Regions from separate parts of the Homo sapiens genome. Here region 1 is linked to region 2. The links are contacts of gene promoters, found by promoter capture Hi-C in blood cells and fetal thymus (Javierre and others, 2016). All regions are on one chromosome and are shown on one strand. The core of a region is centred on a gene start or on the middle of the fragment in contact, and the rest is flanking DNA. Distances in the headings are between cores, read along the strand shown.

Evidence for each region. The method cuts DNA at HindIII sites, captures the fragments that hold promoters and counts their contacts. A CHiCAGO score of 5 or more calls a contact.
Region 1: a contact is called between a fragment that was not itself captured here and the fragment with the promoter of TRPC7-AS1 in region 2, in 3 of 17 cell types (naive B cells, total B cells and total CD8 T cells). The highest score is 8.0, in naive B cells.

The regions. Positions count from the first base shown.
Region 1 is chr5:135,460,007-135,464,005 of GRCh38, reverse strand. No RefSeq gene overlaps it. Among named protein-coding and RNA genes, the nearest start is that of TIFAB, 9.7 kb to the right of the region's middle. The HindIII fragment of the contact is 2,656 bases long and covers 227-2,882 here.
Region 2 is chr5:136,211,749-136,216,283 of GRCh38, reverse strand. It overlaps TRPC7-AS1 (TRPC7 antisense RNA 1), which reads right to left and starts at 2,236. Exons shown (of 2, transcript NR_046708.1): 1 at 1,861-2,236. TRPC7 (transient receptor potential cation channel subfamily C member 7) reads left to right here. Exons shown (of 12, transcript NM_020389.3): 11 at 9-84; 12 at 2,680-3,539. The coding sequence ends at 2,849. The HindIII fragment of the contact is 8,916 bases long and covers 1-3,992 here.

The sequences.
Region 1 (3,999 bases), core at 305-2,804, 750 kb after region 2:
TCTTCCCTTCGCTTGCAGGCAGTTCCCTGTCTAACCAAGGCTGCTGCTTCAGGGCATTTGCACTCAGGACCTCTCGGCCTGCTGCCTTACTCCCTTCAGCCTCTGATGAACCAGAATCTCCCCAGGGGGGGTTTCTGAATGCACAGTCATCCCCCACCGCAGCTACATGCTCACCATTCCTATTCGTTTCCTCCTTCCTTTCCAGACTGTCTCTAGAATGCAAGCTTCCTGAAGGAAGGCTTGCCAAACGTGATAGGCTTAGTAGTGGCCCCAAAGACACACCCACTTCCTAAACCCTGGAACCTGTGACTGTCACCTCATGTGGCAAAAGATGGGATCAAATTAAGGATCTTGAGATGGGGAGATTTCCCTAGATTATCTGGATTGACCCTAAATACAACGACAGTATCCTCATCACAGGAAGGTGGTGGGAGATTTCACACTCGGAGAAGAAGGCCACATGAAGATGGAGCAGAGAGATTTGCCCCAATAGAGAGACCCTGAGCACTCCAGTCTGTCTGGAACTAACACCAGCCACCCAGGCTATCTGCCCCATGCCCCAACTCACGTGTAGACTTTGGCTCCTTCATGGTGATTTCTGTTATTTGGTTCTGCGGGGGCTCATGTCCTAAGGAAAAAATTACATTTTGGCTAACTAGGGTTTACCACACCTCACAAAAGGATTGCAAACTCAAAGGCTTACAGGAGCCTAGAACATAAAATAAATATATACGAAACAGGACTGGGGGAACTGAGGCAAACTGGGATGGAGCGCCAAGCGTCTGCACCAGCAGACGAGTGCCCTGCAGGAACCCGAGCCCAGGCCAGCCTCATCTCCTGACTTTTCAGCTGAAGCTGCAAAAATTGAGGGTTTTATTTCCAGGCTTCCAATTTTAAAATGTTGACAACTTGGACAAAATGTATACAATACCACACTGTGTGGCCCATAGTAGCTGCTAGTTTCTTCTTTGCGGACAGGGACCCACTGAGGCAGAAGGCACCAAATCCAGGTGGCTCCTAGCTTGATTGGGGTGCCTGTCCTGAACATTAGGACCACTTTCCCTGCAGGATCCATGGGGGAATTCGATTCTCCCAAGTGAAAACATCAGAATTCAGTTGAATTCCGATGCAGCTGCACGTCTGCAACAAACACTTCCAACAAATAATAGAGTTGTGACATTCATCATTCCAACAATGAGAACAAATACCAGAATTGAATAAAAAGTTGTGTCCTTGATTTTCCTGGGTGCTGTTGTTGGAAGGCGGGGGTGGGGGGCACCTCAGCTCCTATCTAAAAAATCATCCAGGCCAAGCAGTTGTCAATTAAAGACTGAGAAAGGGAGGAGGGAAAGGCAGCCCTACTCACATCTCGCAGGGCAGCTCTCCACCTGAGCTGAGGTGGGCAGAGTTAATTCCTCCAAGAGCCTTCAGCCTTGAAGAGGTGACATGGAGGTAGCTCTAGCCCTGCAGGGGGAGCAACTATGCCGAGTCCCTGAGAGCTGCCTGAGGGTGGGGACAGCTGTCCCCACCGAGCGTCGCGTCCTCTGAAAACACACAAGCAGGCAATTTCCTGTGCACAAAAGTTGCCCAACAGTGCCCCCTAGCACTCATAATGACATACCTTCTTAGAGTAGGGCCTGGGAGGTTTTAGAAAGTTATCTGAGAGAAGAGACTAGGGAAAAATCTGGTTCTCCAAGTCATACTTGCCAACAACATTTGGGTGTGTTGGGGTTGGCGAGCAGGAGTGGGTAGGGGATGGGGGGGAAAGGAAGGCAGATTAAGGGTGGCATTTATCAAGCACTGGCCCTAGCATTCGTGCCAGGGTTCCCTGTTTCCAGGAGGACCAGATCATGGCTTACACTGAAGACACATTAAGGCTTGCCAAGGTTGAGCTGAGAGCCCCCAGGCTTGATTTAAAGGTGTTGGAGGCATTCCATGGTCTGTGGCAATCCCATCAGCAGTAGAACTTACCTGCAAATGGCTGAGCCACGATGGCCCTGAGCCTCAGTTAGAACCTCTGCAGCTCTACAAGCCACTTCTTACTGCAGATGGGCCCATAGGAAAGTATGTGCCCATCCCATGCCATGGCCAGCCAATTGCAGGCAGACAGCTAAAGGCCAAACACCAATGACAGGTTCTGAGGTAGGTTCCCAACACGTACACAGCAGACACCCTTCAGGTAAATGGCCAACAAAAAGAAACAGCCAAAGTCACTAAGTGAACCACTGGGTGACAAGTTGCCCAGGCCCAGTTGGTGATTTATGGCTCATGAGGTGATGCAGTCCCAGGGAGCTTCTGGAAAACTACTTGGAGAGAGCTCTGTAGGCAGGATTGCTCATTTTCTCATCACTTTTCCATTTTCATGATATAGATCCCCCCTGGGGCAGAGGGAGGAGGAAAATGCTTTTTATATTATGGTAGTGGCCATGTGGAAAAGACATATTTCCCTCAACATTCGATTCCGAATGAAAACGCACGTTTGTAAAGCATATGTGAAACATGTCATGCACGAAAGGTATGAAATATTTATTGTCATGGCTTGGGTTCGTTTTGTGAAATATCACAGGACAGGGAGAAAACTGTTAAAAGTGAGAAACTGCTGGGGAGAATGGGAGCTGCTGGCCTTAAGGATACCTTCACAAAGCAAGGCAGCAGACAGTGCTGGGAACAGAGTGGGGTGGCTGGAATATAGATTCATGTGTGCTTGTACTCGCATCAAGACTCTCTGGAAGGATACACAGGACACCATTACAGCAGTTACCTGTGGGGAGGAGTGTGAGAGAGACTTTCCTCTCTACTTTTTATTTTGAAAAAAAAAAAAAAAAGTGAACTATGTGAATATGTTACCTTTTCAAAATGGGATATAAAAATAAAACAAAGCTTTTCATTTTGGAAGGCTCAATCATTGAAGAGAACTAAAACATTCAGAGCATATTTTGATGTAAAAATTTTAAAAATCTCAAAAACTAAATTTCCTCCCTCTAGCCATCCCTTTCTGTGTATCCAAAGGTTGTCCATCAGCTATGCTCCAATTGCTGCTTATCTGCTTCTCCAGCTCCCAGTCCTCTCTCTCAGGGCTGTCTTCCCCACAGCAACACCCCAGCCCCATGCTGCTGTCCTTGGCTCTTGGCTTTTGTTCTGCACTCTGAGAACGTGGAGGGCTGACCATGGCACTTCTCAGTGCAGCAGTTCTGTGGAGCCGGCTCAGCAATCAGTCTCTCTCAGTGAACAAATCTGCAGCCGGGGAGCCCAACAGGGTGAGGTGCAAGCTTGAGAAGTCTTTCCAACCCTTGAAGAGTTTGCAGTTCGGCTGGGAAAAGGAGACCCTGTTGTCTTTCAATATCTATTTCCCCTTCTCCTATAATAATAGAACCCTCCTTTTGTCATTGATCACACAGCTCCCAGGCACCCTGACAGCTAGGACTAGCCATTCCCTGAGACCAGCCAACAGGATGCAAGCAGAAGTGATTGGGCAATTTCCAGGACGCATCTTCCGAAGGAAAGGATGTGCTCCACGCTTGCCCCCTGCCAGTTCCCCCTGTTTGGATGTGGGTATGGTGGGGGTGAGCCATGTGAGGCCACATGGGCAAGGGCAATGCTCTAGGGTCGGCAGCGTGGCAAGGGGGAAGGAGGCTGGGTTGCCGACACTGTGGAGCAGCCATCGGGGCCCTGGGCTGCTCACACCTGGCCTATTAGGTGACTCTTGTTCAAGCCACTGCTTGAGATCCAAGTTTTCAAAATAACAGAGAGAGGGAGAAAGAGAGAGAATATGTAGAGAGAAAAATTTAGTAAAATGAAATAATGTAATGAATCTGGAAAAGACAAAATAGTAGATTGCCACTTTGTCTCTCTTCATCCAGGTGCAGTCAGTCAATCAATACTGATCACAGTGAGGGATAGTTATTAGGTTAATGCAAATGTAATTCCGGTTTTTGCCATCGAAAATAATGGCGAAACCACAATTACATTTGCACCAACCTACTATTGACCCACTTATGC
Region 2 (4,535 bases), core at 987-3,486:
CATTTCAGAAAATCATGAAACGGCTCATAAAAAGATACGTCCTGAAAGCCCAGGTGGACAGAGAAAATGACGAAGTCAATGAAGGTAAATGACTGGATTTCCACCCACGTGGTGATTTAAAACAACACAGGTTCTGTGGGTCTCACTGGGCTACGGCCACAGTGTTGTCAGGGCACTGTGCTCCTTTCCAGAGGCTCCAGGGAGGCTCAGTCTCCTTGCTCATTCAGTTGTCGGCAGAGTGCATTTCCACGGGGCTGCAGGCCTGTCCCTGTTGCCTTGCTGGCCACAGCTGGGCTGCCCTGAGCTCCAGCACTTGGTCTGTGCATACAGCCCCACCACCTCAGAGCTGGCAGCAGGCATCAGGCACCCTCACACTCCATTTGCCCTGCCTCATCTTCCATTGTCCCATCTCTGACCCCACTCTTCTGCCTTCCTCCTCCACCATTTTTTTTTTTTTTTTTGAGATGGAGTCTCACTCTGTTGCCCAGGCTGGAGTGCAACGGCACAATCTCGGCCCACTGCAACCTCTGCCTCCTGGGTTCAAGTGATTCTCCTGCCTCAGCCTCCTGAGTAGCTGGGATCACAGGTGTGTGCCACCACGCCCAGCTAATTTTTGTATTTTTTTAGTAGAGATGGGGTTTTACCATGTTGGTCAGGCTGGTCTCGAACTCCTGACCTTGTGATCCGCCCATCTCAGCCTCCCAAAGTGTTGGGATTACAGGCATGAGCCACTGCGCCCGGCCCCTCCTCCACTTTTAAGGACTCATGTGATTGAATTGGTTCCACCAGGACAATCCAGAATAATCTCCTTCTGTTAAGGGCAGCTGATCAGCAACCTGAATTCTATTTGCCACCTCAGTTCCCCTTTGAGGAGAAACAGTCATGTTTCCCACAGGCAGAACATCAGGGATCAGGACGGGGACATCTTGGGAGTAGGGGACATTCCTCTGCCTCCCACAGCAATGGCAGCCTTGAGCCAACCTCATGCCTCTTGAGTGCAGGATGGTTCAGAATTCCAATGCTGTACTTCATTCCATGGTGCACATCCACTGAGCAGATGCACACTGCGTTTAGGGTCTGCCGCCGCTTGCTTCTAACTGGCCCTGTCCAGTCTCAGTGGGAGGTTCTCAGCATCTAACTGACAGCCGTGTTTCTCAAAGTGTTCCCCACCTCAGAACTAGCTGTTAAAACTACAGATCCCAGACCCCACCCAGACCTAATGAATCAGCATCTCTGGAGTGGGGTCTGGGGATCTGCTTTTGGAAAACTGCACCAAGGGTCTCTGATATACACTGAAGTTTACCAACTATATTATTTTCACTGTTTGGGTTGTTTTCCAGTCTATTTTAAGCAGTTACTCTTAGATGAAAAGCAAATTACTTTATGCCAGGTAATTAATGAGATACTTATGACAAATATTTGCCACCTAGAAACAGCCTCATCCATGATTGAAGTTTCTGTTCTCCTAGCTTGGGCCACAGGGAACTACAGAAAGAGCCTGGTCATTGGGTGACCCTCTGCTTCATCCTGGGGCACCCAGCATGCAGCTCGAAGCTCAGCCATAACTGAACTGCCCCTGAGCTGACATGGTTTAGGGGCAGACAACAGCCCACCTACCTACTTGTAGGTCTCAAACAATGGCCAAGTGTCAGGCCAGCCAGCCTCAAGCAGTATGTAACTGATTCATGTGAATATCACTGATCATAGAAGGTGGGGGTATCCAGGTGTCATGGCACTTAAATTACACCATGAAACGGGGGCTCAGTGAAGCATCTGATAAAAACAGGGGGTGTATCCATTTGTCAAAATGGATCAAACTGTACCTTTAAGATCTCTGCCTTTTATGTGTATAGACCATACCTGAAAAATAGACGAGTAATGTTTCCACAGACAGTGGACTCCCACACGAGCCAAGTGCAGTATCTACAGTATTAGGAAAGATCCTTTTGACATCTGTTTGTGGTTAATAAGAAGATTCCCACAGCCTAGACCCATTGGACTTCTAACCACAAGGTTCTCTGTGGAAATAAAAGTGAAAGTCCCTGCTAGGTGGTCCCTCGTTATGGAAGGAGGAGGCGGCAGGCATTGACGAAGCTCCTGTCAGCGAGGTGGTGCTGCTGCTTGTGTGGGCTGAGTGGACCGTGCTCAGGTGGCCAGCTCACTCCCAAGAGGCTGGTCAGCTCCATGGCCACCACGGCTGCATCTGCTGTGCCGAGCCATTCTCTCCAGGCTCCTGGGAGTTTCTCCTCCCTACAAATAACAATGACAGAACAAAACATAGCATCATCAAAAGCAATGCTCTGGTTAATGGGGTTGTTTTCCAGAGTCTTGAAATCTGCCTTTAGTGACTCTGAAACAAACTTTCTAACAAGTATTTTATGAAACAAGTGCTAGACACAATTCACAGCCCTGATCTTGACTCCTCCTTCAAACCCCTAAGGGAAAGGTTTTCCTGGAATGGGAGGAGAAGGGCTTTCTATGGATCGATGTGTCCTTCAGTGGTGGGGGAGCTGGGTGGTTCTGGGTTCAAATAGAGCCCCCCTTGCCTCACCTTCAACCCTGGTGGGCTGGCCCAGGACCCGACATTCCACTGGAAGGATGCACATGCCCACATGTGCATGGGACAAGCCCCGAGCTTCCACCTACTCAGACTCAGCAAAATCTCCTCTGTCCTTGCAGGCGAGCTGAAGGAAATCAAGCAAGATATCTCCAGCCTGCGCTATGAGCTTCTTGAGGAAAAATCTCAAGCTACTGGTGAGCTGGCAGACCTGATTCAACAACTCAGCGAGAAGTTTGGAAAGAACTTAAACAAAGACCACCTGAGGGTGAACAAGGGCAAAGACATTTAGCAGCCCACATCGGCGTCTGTGACTTCTACCAGCATTCCAAGGCCAGGTTGGATGCCCTCGCCCCCATCCTTGGTGGGGAGGGGTCCCCAGCCCACTCCTCTAGGACACGAAGGGGATCTCCTGGCTCAGTCTCTTGCAGCATGACTGACATCTCCAGCCCGCTGGCCTGCCTAGACCCAGAACTGCTGTGAATCTAGGTGGTTGGGTAAGAAAAGCTACCATGGGAGGAGGGGAGGAACAGCCCCCTGACGAGTGTGAGACCTTTGGTCCAGCCACAGTGAAACCCATCCCTGTGGCCAGAGCAGGAAAAGGCCATCTTGGGTGCACACCTGTGCCCTCCCACTGCAGGTGGGACTGCAGCTCTGGCTGTGTCCTGGGAAGACAAACACCTCAACCCACAAACTCCTTCTCACTCCCTCCCTGCCACCCCCAACACATCCAAACAGAACCAGGAGGTGACCTGTGATCTATTCTTAAGTGCCAGATGAGAACACAGCCTAATAGCAAAATAGTTCTATTTGTTTATATAAAAAAAAAGTTTAAAAATCCTAAATTGAAAACTGTACTGTAGGTAGCACTGTTTAGAAAACAACAACAAAATCCAAATGATGTATTTTTACCTTTATTAAGATTATCTTGTATTTACTATTTTTACCTAAAATGGAAAGAAATAAAATTACCTCATAATAACTTCTGTGGATACGCTACCAGGGCCGCCCCACTCGCGGGCCCAGTCTGGAGGTGGCCTTGGGAACCTGTGGCCCAGGGATGCTTCGGGAGGAGAATGGGCCGATGCGGTGGGGGTTGGGTGGGGACGAAGGCACCACCCTCCTTAGAGTCATGCAGCCAGGACCCCCAGAAGCTCCAGCCTCCACCTCCAAGCCCCTCCTCCTGTGCCCAGACCTAAGGTCAGGAAGGAGGTAAAGGAAATGCAGAACAAGTGGAAAGTTTTCTCCCACCCCATTCTAGAACTTTCCTCCATGTGAAAGGAAGGGGAGGGGCAGGAATGAGGCCTCAAAGTGTCCCCCCAACCAAGGAAGAGGCTAAGTGTGAGTGGGGAGAGCAGCCACCAGAGGGCGCTGAGTCCCAAACAATGCCTGTTCGGAGCAGGTGTGCGAAGATGCCATTCATCTTCCAGAAGCTTCCAGAAGAGCCCTCTGCTCCCAAGGAAATATTCCTAGGGCTGGCCAGAAGTATTCAGCTTTTGCCGTGTACCAGGCACTGTGCTCGGGGCTTTGCATGCATCAGTCCACCGGATCCTCACAGCAACCCTGTGAGGAGGGTGATGGTTACAAATTCACATGCCTTGCAGACGTTCTAGAGGGGGGAAGATAAATATATAATAATTATATATATATATATATATGCATGTGTGTATGTGTAAATGTATATATGTATGTATATGTAGAAAGAGGGAGCTTGTGTTTCAAGACATACGTCTTTGTCTTCAGGGGCAAACATTTTTTTTACTTAACTCTGCTATAAGAAACAGCCGATCAGATGAGGCGATAAATAGAAGTGAGGTTGGTGCCAGCATTGATGGGAGTGACGAGGGACGATGACAGACTGCACAGCCGTGCCCTGCCTAAAGCAGGCTGCAGACACTCAGCTCAGCCCATCGTTGCCATAAGGAATATAAGTCCTGTTTTGCCACATCTTCCCAACTGCTGAAAAAAAGAAAAAGTC